Regions from separate parts of the Homo sapiens genome. Here regions 1, 2 and 4 are each linked to region 3. Evidence: promoter capture Hi-C in human tissues and cell types (Jung and others, 2019). All regions are on one chromosome and are shown on one strand. Each heading gives the region's core, a stretch centred on a gene start or on the middle of the fragment in contact. The rest is flanking DNA. Distances are from core to core; before and after follow the strand shown. Region 1 has its middle 15 kb from the start of GALNT1. Region 2 has its middle 49 kb from the start of ZNF397. Region 3 holds the start of ZNF24 (zinc finger protein 24). Region 4 has its middle 26 kb from the start of ZNF397.

Region 1 (3,334 bases), core at 18-2,517, 220 kb after region 3:
TCAATCAATGTAACATGTCATATTAGTAGAGTAAGGGGGCAAAAACTACATGATCATCTCAATAGACATAGAAAAACATTCCACAAAACCCATCCTTTCATAAAAAAAAAAAAAAACTCTAGGGATAAAGGAGAAATTCCTCAATCTGATAAAGGCCATCCATGAAAAACACATAGCTAACAATGTATTTAAAGGTGAAAAACTGAGTATTTTCCCCCTAGGATCAGGAACAAGACAAGGATATCCGCTCTCACTGCTTCTATTCAACATGATATATTGGAAGTTCCAGCCACAGCAATTAAGCAAGAAAGAAACATAAAACATTCAGATTGGAAGGGAAGAAGTAAAATTATATAAAATCAACAAGATTGCAGGATACAGTATCAATATACAAAAAGCAATTATATTTCTATATGTAAGCAATGGGCAATCTGAACGTAAAATTTGGAAATATTATGTTTATAATAGCATCAAAAAGAATAAAATACTTAGAAATAAACTTAGGAGGAGTAAAACTTGTGCACTGAAAATTACAAAACATCATTGAAAGAAATTAAATTAGGGCCAAGTGTGGTGGCTCATGCTTGTAATCCCACCACTTTAGGAGGCTGAGGCAGGTGGATCACATGAGGCCAGGAGTTCAAGACCAGCCTGGCCAACAAAACGAAACCCCATCTCTATTAAAAACAGAAAAAATTAGCCAGTTCTGGTGGTGTGCACCTGTAACCCCAGCTACAACCTGGGAGGTTGAACCTGGGAGGTGGCAGTTGCAGTGAGCCAAGATCGTGCCACTGCACTCCAGACTAGGTGATAGAGCGAGACTCTGTCTCAAAAAAATAATAAATAAATAAATAAATAAATAAATAAATAAATAAATAAAATTAGACCCAAATCACTATAAAGACATCACATGCTCATGGATTGGAAGACTCAGTATTGGTAAAGTGGCAATAATCTTCAAACTGATATTCAAACTAAATACATCCCCTATCAAAATCTTAGGAATTTCGAAAGATTAATCCAAAAACTCGTATAGAAATGGAAGGGATCCAGAATAGCCAAATTATCTTGAAAAATAAGGATAAAATTGGAGCATTCACACTTCCTGATTTCAAAGCTTACTATACAGCTATAGTAATCAGTGCAGTGTGGTATAAGAATAGACATACAAATCAATGGAATAGAACTGAGACTCCAGAAATTACCCCTTACATTTACTGATTTTTGAAAAAGATGCCAAGACAATTCAAAAGGAATTTGTGTGTATCTGCACACGCAAAAATATTCGTTAGCAAATTATTAATCAGAGACACAATGAGATACTACCACCTCACACCAACTATGGTGGCTCTAATATAAAAAATGGAAGTAATATGTGTTGGCAAGGATGTAGGAAAACTTAAATTCTCACACATTGCTGGTGGGAATGTTGAATCCTGCAGCCACTTTAGGAAACAGTTTGGCAGTTCCTCAACTGATTAAACATAGAGTTACCTACTGCATGTCCCAGCAATTCTACTCTCATGCATACAAACAAGATAATTCAAAACTACACACAAACTTGTACATCTAAATGTTCATAGCAGTGCCAAAGTAGAAACAACCCAAATGTCCATCAACTGAAGCATGGTTAACAAACAGTGGTGTGGAATGTGGCATATACAATAGAATATTACCTTGCAATAAAATGAAATAAAGTACCCATGCAAAATGGATCTTGCAAACCTCATGCTGAATGAAAAAAAGCCAGACACAAAAGGCTACATATATTATAGTACTCCTTTTATATGAAATTTCCAGAATAGGCAAAGCTATAAAAATAGACAGTAGATTAGTAATTTCTAGGGGTTGGGAGACGAGGAGAATGGGGAATGACTGCCAATAAATATGGAGTTTCTTTTGCGGTTGATGATAATGTTCTGCATGTTAATGGTGGTGGTAGATGCGCAAATCTGTGAATACACTGAAAAACACTAAAATTCTATACTTTAAAAATTATTTTTGGTATAAGAATTATATCATCATAAAGTTTTATAAAATAATAATTGATATTAAAAACTCAAAGGATGAATTAGACTACAGGAAAGAATAAGTGAACTGGGATATAAATCTGAAGATATGACCCAGAATACAACAAAAAGATGCAGAGATGGAAAATATACAAGAAAAGTTAAGAGATATCAAGGATAGAGTGAGAACATTTAATAAGTCTAATCAGAGTTCCAAAAGGAAAGGAAAGAGAATAGGAGAGAGGCCATATCAGAAGAGATAATGGCTGAGTATTTTTCAGAATTGATTAATGATACCAATTCTCAAATTCAGGAAGTGCAACAAGTTCCAAGAATAACTTAAAAAGAAGAAAAGAAAAGAAATTAACACCTGGACATATCATACTAGTCTGCAGAACACCAAAGACAAATTGAAGCTCTTAAAAACGGTCAGGTGAAATATAAGTCAGCAATAAAAAGGAACAAATTATTGAAACACCCAGAAACTTGATTAGATTTCAAGAATATTAGGCTGAGTGAAAAGCCAAGGTACAAAATGAGGCATGAGTCTGTGCTAGTTGCCATAACAAAATACCATAGACTGAGGGGTGTAAACAATAAAAATGTATTTTCTTACAGTCTGGAGGCTAGAAATCCCAGATCAAGGCCCAGCAGGGTAGATTTCTGGTGAAAGCTCTCTTCCTGGCTTGCAGAAAATCACTGTTTCCCTGCCCTCATATGGCAGAGAGAATGAGAGAGAGGGAGGGGAGAGAGAGAGAGAGAGAGAGAGAGAGAGAGAGAGAGAGAGAGAAAAGTTCCCTGGTGTCTCTTTGTTTAACCTCATTAAAGGCTGTATTTCCAAACACAGTCACATTGAGTGTTAATAATACAGTCACATTGAGGTTAAACATAATTCAATTCATAGCATGCAGCATGATTCCAGTTATGTAATATTTTCAAAAATATAAAATTATAGAGATGGAGAGCAGATTAATAGTTGCCAGGGGTTAGTGATGGTAGGAGGTTTGGGTGTGGCTGTTAAGTGGTAGCATAAGGGAGATCTCTGTCATAATAAAATCATTCTGTATCTTGAAACTACTGAGTGATGCTTACAGAAATCTACACATGTGATACAATGAGATAGAACTATATATACACAATGTGCCAATATCAATTTCCTCATTTTGCCATTGTATTATAGTTAAGTAACATGTAACCATTGGGGAAAACTGCGGGGAAGGGTACAAAGGGCCCCTCTTTTCTATTTTTGTAGCTTTCTGTGAATCTGTAATTATTATGAAATAAAAAGTTTTTTAAAAAGCAGCCAGGAACAAAAGATAGTTTAC
Region 2 (3,341 bases), core at 602-3,101, 150 kb before region 3:
AGAGAGGTTGAGTAACTTTCCCAAGGTTGTACAACTAGTAAGTGGCAGAGCCAGAATTCAAACCCTGGCAATCAGACCTCAGAGACCACAGCTTGCCACCCTCTCCTGTGAGGTTTTAAACTGCGCTAGAGTTTGCAAAAATTCATCTGCCCTTCCAGGCTCTTCAACTCTGGCTGGTACCCAGAGCAGATTGTTCTTGGGGTCCCAGGTTGACTCTAATCCCTTGTTAGACTTCTAGAAAAGAAATACAAGGAGATTCTGAGGTTTCCAAGTCTACCCTGGTATTTGGAGGTTCTCAGATGCCTTGTAATGGGCTCTGGAACTTTATCCAGCACCTTTTCTCAATTTGCTATAAGTCAAGATGTTACTTTGTTCCCTAAGAAATAATTTAGGACAATATTATGCTACCAAAACATGCTATTTAAAAAACAAGAGAAGACACTAGAAACTTGCCATATTTCAGGTAAACTTAATGCCTCTAGAAATAAAAATGTAGGCCCGTTCATCATGTGAGGACATAGCTAGAAGGTGCCATCTATGAACCAGGAAGCAGCCTTCACCAGACCCAAATCTGCGGGCATCTTGATCTCAGACTTCCCAGCATCCAGAACAATGAGAAAAAAATATCTGTTGTTTATAAACTAGGAGAGAGAAAGAGATTTACCCAAAGTTCTCTTATAACCCAAAAGTATGGTTCATCTGAATGAAAACAGATGAACTTTGTCATCTTAAGTAAGGGGATACCATCGTGAGGTTTGGAATTTATCTCTTGTAAATCTGAAAAAAGTAAACAAATCCTAACTATTGATATTCTGATAGCACTGAGGACAGGAGTTGAATTGTAAATTGCTGCTTACCTAGCATTCTGCATGACTTGGTCTTCCCTCACCACCCTATCTTACCATATGGATTTTTCTTTTGATCGACACTTAACTCTTTCAGTAGGATTAAAACCACCATCCCAGATAATTAAAGATGAAAGTAAACTGAACATTCCCTTTTGGAACTTGGAAACTCCCTGCGGTTGCCAAAAAGAACTTGAAATGCTTTAAGATAGAGATTATACATTCAGTCAAATCAGCAATTATAAATTACTAGCTTTGTGCAAGGCTTTAGAACATAAGTAGAATGAGAAAAGAGGTTATTCTCTGAAACAGCCTCTGGGAAGGGGAAGTGGGTGTTTTCACGTCCCATTCATAAAACCTAAGGACAAGTCCATAAACTTTTCTCTGGTCTTTACTGCAGAGCAAAGAAAATCCACTGTTTCTATTTGTTAAAAAGCTTCAGCTTTTATGTCTTGTGAGAACAGAGAATGCTTGACCCTAAGGGGCCCACAAATCTTATGCAGGACCTTTTTTGTAAGTTAAAAAACAAAACAAGAATATTTTATCATGCAAATGTGTCTTGTCATTCATTAGAAAACACCACTGTGGTATTGTGACCTGGGTTCGTAATAAGCTCTGAAGTGTTCATCGAATAGGAAAGATATGAAAGAGTGGAGGAGGAGGAAACATGTGAGGCCTACTATGTGCCAGACGCTGTGCTAGGGAATGTAATATGCATTGTTACACTAAGAAAATAGCTAGCTGTGGCCCGGCTCAGTGGCTCATGCTTGTAATCCCAACACTTTGGGAGGCAGAGATAGGCAGATCGCTTGAGGCCAGGAGTTGGAAACCAGCCTGGGAAACAGTGAAATTAAATTAAATTTATTTAAAAAAAGAAAAAAAAAAAGATAGTTGAAAATATCTTCTGTCTTCACTTTTTGTTTCGTTTTCATTTTGACATGGGGTCTCTTTATGGTGCCCAGGCAACATAAAGAGAACTCCTGGTCTCGAACTCCTGCTTCAAGGGTTCCTCTAGCTTTAGCCTCCAGAGTAGCTGGGACTACAGGCACACACCACCACGCCCGGCTGTGTCTTCAATTGATGAAGATTGCCGATGATCATTTAAAATACTTTGTCATCTCAACTGCTCTCTGGAAAATTTTAATTTTATTGGGAAAGCATTTCTTTCTTTTACACTAACACCCTCATTTAAAGCAGGCCGAGGAAGACTTCACTTTGAAGCCTTTATCCTGCTCGAGGTCAAGGATTGTACCTGCCCATTTTGTAACTGCTGTGAGAGCAATGGAAGCTCCGCAGCACTTTTAGTTATCAAGCCCTTCCTTTCCATCTCCCAATCCCCATTGTAGACTAATAAATTTTTCAATATGAAGGCTCTTGTGTGTTCATGACTGTGATAAATGAAGCATGGCTGAAGTGGCTTTGCAAGCAGCTGGAATATCCCCTGGAGAAGTCATTTACATAATTAAACCTTGGAGTATCTGAACATGGTTCAGACTGTGACCTACTCTTGCATCTGAGGTGCCTCAGAAGCAGTGTCATATCATACACGTCCTGCTGCTGCTTGATCAGCTTCGCTTCTCTATCAAGCCTTCTCATTGTGACCTGGAGAGCTTCTTCAAATACCACCTACGAGCTGCCTTTCCTCCCCATTTCCCACTTTGATTTTGCTGAAAACTCACTTTCCTTAACTTAAACTAATTTAATCTTTTTGCTGTTTTCTATGTGCCCTGGATATCGGAGGGATTATTTAAGCTGTTTTAATTTTTAATATAAAGAATATAGGGCTCTGATTATAATCATCTACTGAGTACCTAGGAATGAATGTCATACTCTGCTCTGTTTGGACAATTTGTGTTTTCTTTGTACAGATAATTCAGCTCCCTCATGTAATACCCATGTTAACCCAGAGAGGTACATATTATAATCCCTATTGTACAGAAGAGGAATCTGACCCTTCCAAGTTAAGTTAGAAATGGGAGGGACAGTGATAATGATTGAAACCTAAGATTTGACTCCTGAATCCCACTGCTCTTAACCTTTGGAAAATATTGCCCATCAACTTCTCTTTATTCAAAGTGCCTAATACAAAACCACACATAAATGCATCCTCATAAATTATCTTCAGCTATATATTTAAACTACATCTTTTTTTAATTACTGTTGTAAGGCTACATGTAGATAAGCTAGTTCTCAACATTATTTTGTTTGTGGATGCCATAATTTGACAAACACTGAGGACCCTCCATCCAGACAAAAGCACACATGCCACATATACAACAGGTCTAGATGGCTGCCAACTTTAAGGGTCTCTTTCTGACAGATTAGACTCCTTCTCAGTCACAGGCTAATGTTGCCAAGTCATCTCTCTGCAGAGGTGAACGGCAGGCACTCTCATTGTTTGCTCTTCTTTCTACTGAAGTGAAATATACCCTTTCCATTACTACACCCTGGCCATGACACAGGGAGATGGCTTACAATAGACTTTCACACTGCTGA
Region 3 (3,199 bases), core at 234-2,733:
GCTTTCTAAATGTGCCTGACCCTGGAACGCATTATTTCCAATTCAGGATTGGTGTTTCCTGACACACACAAGTCAACTCAAAAGGAAGGTTCGCTTTATTATTATGTGCTTAAAAAAATTTTCTTTACCATTTAAAAAATATTTTTAAGGTGTTTAAGAACTCCTTGGACTTATATGTGAAAAAATGTTCACTTGCTGAGTAGCAGATCACATAATATTGAAAAGATCATATGTGAAAAACATCACATAATTTTGAAAAATTATCTTGCACATAATACGTAAATATTCAGTCTTCCACCACACCATACGTACATTTATATTTATAATGATAGGCATTAATCACAGAAACTTCTATTAAGAAAAGGCACTCGCATAAGCACCTTGACTTCCTGCAGTGGTCCAGTGTCTTGTCCTTACACTGGAGGACTCACAGTTTCCCCAGCTTCTACCTTCAGTGAAACTGTATACTGCTTCTGGACCTTTATTATTTGCACGATCATGCCCGTGCTGTTGTTTACGACACATACTAGCAATGAGCCATTCAGCCTATTTATTTATTCAGGGCCCAAAATCTGAACAATAACAACTTAAAAAAACTTATTGTAACCCAAGCAAGATGAAGACTAGAATCAGAAAAGGCCTTATCAGACAAGTAATACATACTGGTTTAATTAAATACCCTGGAGTGTGGTGGCCTTATACATAAGGTCTAGCCAACATTCATTCGTTCCTATTCCAAGACCCTGCTTATCAACGGTGCAAGTATTTCTACATAATTTTCTCTTCCTTTTATGCTGTAGAGCATACCGCTTGTGGGAAATGGAGGGAAGGCCCACGGTCCCGACAATGTTTGGGCAGGGTACCTCGTCCCAGGTGGATCGCCCACCTTACTGCTGCATAGACCTGCTGTGTATCCCGGCCCCGGCCCCGGCCCCGGCCCGACGTCCTCTAGCCCCTCTTCCCAGCACTCAGGACCGCGGATTTCAGATGACCAAAGGCCACCCTGTGACAACAGCGTCGGAACCACGGCACTTCCGCCTGCGGCCGGTGAGACTACAAATCCCAGAAGCCCCGCGCAAGTCTCGTCCCACTACCACCCCCTCCCATCACGACTCCCAGAACCCTCCGCGAGACGCCAGGGCCTCGAAATAGAACAAAACCGGCCGGTGGGGGAGGGGGAAGGTGAGGGTCTCGGAGGACACAGGGGGTTAGAGAGCTCTCTGCAAATGCCGAAGACCCAAGCAGGCCTGCCGCCTACCCCTCCCCGCCCCACAACTGCTAGGCGCGGAGACCGCGGCCTGTTCCCCGCGCCTCCCGGGAAGCTGAGGAAGGTCCCGGACAGGCTTCCCCGCCGGCTCCTGCTAAGAGGTCCGCAGACCCTAGCCCGGTGTCCCCCCTCCCTCTCATAACGTTCCCCGCACACCGGCGCAAACCTCCGGCTCAGGAACCGCAGCAGCTTCGCTGTCCACGGCAGACGCAGAAACGCCGTTCACAAGCCTTTTCCCAGAAGCCCCCGGCGCGGGCTGCTTCCGGTCTGCGGGCCTGAGGAGGCGGGGAGAGGTAAAGCCCACGTTGCCATGGAGAAGCGCCCCGGGCGGGGGAGGGGCGGCCCCACGACAATGACCGCATTGAGGCTGCGCTTGGCCTCGCGCCTCTCCTCGAACAGCCCAGCGTCCTCTGGACCGTTTAAAAGAAAACATAAAGAGGACTCTACCATTAAGATAGTCCTTACAATTTCGCAAGCCCTTTCACGTGCATTATCTTGTGGATCCTCTCAGTAATCCCCTGCAAGAAGGAATGAAAGTGAGTGTTTGTGAAAGCTTACTACATTGTGCCAGGCGCTCTCGTCGTGCTTTACATGTCATTTTTTTTTCCACAAATAAATGATGTAGGAACTTTCATTATCCCCATTTCACAGCTGAGATAGTTGAGGCACAAATACAGTAAATAACCTGACAAGAGCTCACAACTCATTTGTGGGTAGCAAGATTTGAAACCAAGACGTGATTCAAATCTTTGGCTCCCACTAGTTATGTCATGGAGCTTTATTCCGACCTATTTATCTGTCAGGAAAACTAGATAAGACAGGTTAAGAGTTTTGGCAGTGATGTCACGGTGAATTTGTAGAATGCATGGTCATCTTAAAGCTGGGCATTTTATACCATAAAACAACTGCTGACGCGATCATTTAAAATTACAAATCAGACCACTTCACTCCCCTATTTAAAGCCCTCCAATTTATGTCATAATAATTTATGACATAAAAACTCCTTATAATGGCCTGTAAGTCCCCTGTGGTCTGTTGCCTGCCCGCACCCCCAGACCCTGGCGCCCCCAGTCACCTCAGCTCCTCGGCTCATTGTGGCCCAAGATCCTCAGCCTCACCACCTGCCTTTCATGGCGCATGACCCTTCATGGCACTGTTATTAATGGAAGTGATCTCATTTATTTACTTGTTTTATTTTTTGTTTTGTTTTGTCTTTAAGTCCCTTAAGGGCAGGGACCTTGTCTGTCTTGCTCACCACAGTATCCCATCCTAGATCCTGGAAGCTGACTGCCTGGTAAATAGAGAACTCAATAAATATTTGTTGAATAAATAAATGAATTGTGGGATGGTTACATTGCTGCCTTTAGCTAGGTCACATGATTGGCATCAGACACCACACAAAGGAGCCCTGTTGTTTAAGGACTGGTCAAAAGTGTAGATCCAGCCTAACATAAGCATTTCAAGATCCTCAGGCTTTGACTTTTTGCCTCATTGGAGAAAATGCCCTCTGAAAAGTGCCGTCAGGCTCCGCTGGATTCGTGCATGAGAGAGCAAGTGAGCGAGCAGCTGATGGTATACCACTGCTTTTCATTCCGACCAGAGCTCTTCTCACAACCCCTGCTAACACTTCTCTCCATTGCAGGAAGCTTCAGAAGTACAGCCTTTTCACTCTGCTACTTGGATACGGCCCCTAAGCAACTTGGCTGCTCTTCCCAACCTTTCCCTCTTATCTGATTTGTAAAGGCTAGCTGAAGGCATTTTTGTTTTAAGAGTTTTTACATCTAATTAATGTTGGAAAACAAAAATAATAAATCTGAAACCTAACCTTGAGGAAGTTAAAAATGTTGCAAAATTTTACAAAACCCTTTTCCTGTGATTATATTGTTTGTTTTGTTTTTGAGACAGGGTCTTGCTCTGTCACCCAGGCTGTAG
Region 4 (3,067 bases), core at 539-3,038, 130 kb before region 3:
TGCAAATATTTTCTCTCATTCTGTAAGTTGCCCTTAGTTTTTTTTTTTTTTTTTTTTGAGATGGGATCTTGCTTTTTTGCCCAGGCTGGTCACATATTCTTAGGCCCAAGTGATTCTCCTGCCTCAGCCTCCTGAGCAGTTGGGACTACAGGTGTACACTACTGTGCTCAGCTATAGGTTGCTTTTTCACTCTTTTGACATTATCTTTTGATGCACAAAAATCTTTAATTTTTAAAATTTTTTTTATTTTTTGAGATGGGGTCCTGCTCTGTCACCCAGGCTGGAGTGCAGTGGCATGATCAAGTTCACTGCAGCCTTGATCTCCCAGGCCCAAGCAATCCTCCCATCTTAGCCTCCTAAGTAGCTGAGACTATAGTCCCATGCCCCCACACCCAGCTAATTTTATTTTTTAAGTAGAGATGAGGCCTCACTATGTTGCCCAAGCTGGTCTGAACTCCTGAGCTCAAGCAGTTCTCCTGCCTTGGCCTCTCAAAGTGCTGGGGTTATAGGCATGAGCCATCATGCCTGGCCAATTTTTAAATTTTCATGTAGTCTAATTTGTCTATTTTTTCTTTTGTTACCTGTGTTTTACATATCAGCCTACAGAGTTTCTAGCCCTTCTGCTAACCCCCAAAGTTTCTAATGAGAAATCAGCTGATAATCTTATTGAGGATCCCTTGAAAGTGATGAATCACTTCTTTCTTACTGCTTTCAAGGTTCTCTCTTTATCTTTGTATTTTCATGGTTTGATTAAAATGTATTTCAGTGTAAGTCTCTTTGAGTTCATCTTACTTGGAGTTTTCTAAGCTTCTTGGATGTTTATATTGATGCCTTTCATCAAATTTGGGGGACTTTCAGCCATTCTTTTTTTCTTTCTTTCTTTCTTTTTTTTTTTTTTTTTTTTGAGATGGAGTCTCACTCTGTCACCTAGGCTGGAGTGAAATGGCACGATCTGGGCTTGCTGCAGCCTCCACCTCCTGGGTTCAAGCAATTCTCCTGCCTCAGCCTCTCTAGTAGCTGGGATTACAGGTGCCCACCACCACGATCAGCTAATTTTTGTATTTTAGTAGGGACAGGGTTTCACCATGTTGTCCAGGCTGGTCTTGAATTCCTGACCTCAAGCAATCCACCTGCCTCAGCCTCCCAAAGTGCTGGGATTACAGGCGTGAGCCACTGCACCCGGCCAAGCCATTTTTTTTTCAAATACTCTCTCTGTCCCTTTCTCTCTTCTTCTTCTAAAACTCCTGATATGTGTATAGTCATCCATCTGCTTGATGGTGCCCTACAGGTCCCTTAGGCTCTATTCACTTTTCTTCAATCCTTTTTCTTTCTGTTTCTCAAACTCAATAATTTCCATGCCCTACCTTCAAGTTTGCTCATTCTTTCTTCTGCCTGCTCAAACCTGCCTGCGAATCCCTTCAGTGAACATTTAATTTGTTATTGTATTTTTCAGCTCTAGAATTTATTTATTTATTTTAGCCTATTTCCTTACTGATACTCCCATTTTGCTCATGCATCATTTTCTTGACTTTCTCCACGTTTCTTTTGTTGTTTGAGAATCTTTAAGACAATGGTTTTTAAATCTTTGTCTAATAGATCTGCCATCAGGTCTTTTTCAGGGACAGTTTCTGCTTATTTTTTAAATGAGCCAAACTTTCCTGCTTCTTTGTTTTCCTTGTGATTTTGTTGTTGTCGAAAACTGGACATTCAAATCAAATAATGTGGTAACTCTGAAAATCATATTCTCCCTTTTGCTGTTTGTCTGCCATTGCTTCTGTTATTCTTTTTGTTTTTCTGATTGTTGTAGGCTGTTCCAGTGCCTTTTTCTAAGCAACTATGGTCACTTTCCAATTGTGCTCATATATCCAGTTCCTTTTGAATGTTCCAGTCTTTAATGTCTGGCTCCCAAAAGGGAGAAAAAAAAAAAAAACTCAAGAGTAGGGGAAATATAGAACTGGCCCTTTAAATCCCCTGGATGTCACTTCAGCCAGAAGGAGAAAGGTTTGCAACAATGGGGGAGGTGTAGCAGAAGCAGCAACAATGGAGCCAGGTGATCAGAAGCAGCACTCAGCAATCAGAGTACAGATCCCCCATATTTGTAGAACAGGGTCCTTTTTGCCCTCCTTGGCTTCCACAAGCTATGTGCAAGCTGCTCCAGGAATACATAACTAACTATCCCAGGACTGGAGGTGGGGGATATGAACTGTTACTGTCCTAAGGGCTGAAATTGATTTAACTTAACCGCAATTTACTTGTGCAAGCCACTCTATAGAAATTGTAAGCCTTCAATTCAATAGATGCCAGAGTTCCAAAAGTATTTACATCAGACAGATTCTGCTGGTGCAGTTGCTGTCTAGGTGAGGAGACAGATTCCTGAGACTTTTTACTCTGCCATCTTCCCAGAATCCTTCTAGTTTTAATGTTGTACTCTCTAATGAGATGTAACTGTTTACCCAATTTCCCCAATTGCTGCAACTTATGGTTAAATAAGATGGCTATATAAGTTATATAAATGTTTACATCTTATGTGCATCTTCTCCAATGACAAAACCACTGGGGAAAACTTGGTAAAGTGTACATAGGACCTCTCTACCATTTTTGCAGCTAACTGTGAATATTTAGTTATCTCAAAAACAAAACAAAAAACAAGAAAAAAAACAAAAAATTGCCAAACTTGAAATTCAGGCTCTATTACTGTCTGTGTGAACTTGGGCTCATTTAACCAATCTGTGACTTGGTTTTGTCATCCATAAAATAACAGTATCTACCAAGTTATGGTAAAAAATAACTGAAATAACATATCAAAAGAAAAACTGTTTACTTATATCCCAGTTGTCACTTTTCACTTTCACTAAGCCATCATATCCCCTGTGACCTGCATGGACACATCCAGATGGCCGGTTCCTGCCTTAACTGATGACATTCCACCACAAAAGAAGTGAAAATGGCCTGTTCCTGCCTTAACTGATGACATTACCTTGTGAAATTCCTTCTCCTGGCTCATCCTGGCTCAAAATCTCCCCCCAGTGAGCACCTTGTGACCCCCACCCCTGCCCGCCAGAGAACA

Evidence for each region. Contacts are between HindIII fragments. The study calls those that stand out against the background at their distance.
Region 1: a fragment that was not itself captured here is called in contact with the fragment with the promoter of ZNF24 in region 3 in 1 of the 25 tissues and cell types used here (thymus).
Region 2: a fragment that was not itself captured here is called in contact with the fragment with the promoter of ZNF24 in region 3 in 3 of the 25 tissues and cell types used here (dorsolateral prefrontal cortex, hippocampus and lymphoblastoid cells).
Region 4: a contact is called between a fragment that was not itself captured here and the fragment with the promoter of ZNF24 in region 3, in 2 of the 25 tissues and cell types used here (dorsolateral prefrontal cortex and spleen).

Annotation. Positions count from the first base shown.
Region 1 is chr18:35,565,346-35,568,679 of GRCh38, forward strand. No RefSeq gene overlaps it. Among named protein-coding and RNA genes, the nearest start is that of GALNT1, 15 kb to the right of the region's middle. The HindIII fragment of the contact is 9,152 bases long and covers 1-3,334 here.
Region 2 is chr18:35,190,284-35,193,624 of GRCh38, forward strand. No RefSeq gene overlaps it. Among named protein-coding and RNA genes, the nearest start is that of ZNF397, 49 kb to the right of the region's middle. The HindIII fragment of the contact is 5,575 bases long and covers 1-3,341 here.
Region 3 is chr18:35,342,937-35,346,135 of GRCh38, forward strand. It overlaps ZNF24 (zinc finger protein 24), which reads right to left and starts at 1,484. Exons shown (of 4, transcript NM_006965.4): 1 at 1,424-1,484. LOC124904283 (a long non-coding RNA gene) reads left to right here and starts at 1,118. Exons shown (of 2, transcript XR_007066337.1): 1 at 1,118-1,803. RefSeq lists an enhancer at 802-861 and a silencer at 1,542-1,711. The HindIII fragment of the contact is 10,533 bases long and covers 550-3,199 here.
Region 4 is chr18:35,213,177-35,216,243 of GRCh38, forward strand. No RefSeq gene overlaps it. Among named protein-coding and RNA genes, the nearest start is that of ZNF397, 26 kb to the right of the region's middle. The HindIII fragment of the contact is 6,511 bases long and covers 1-3,067 here.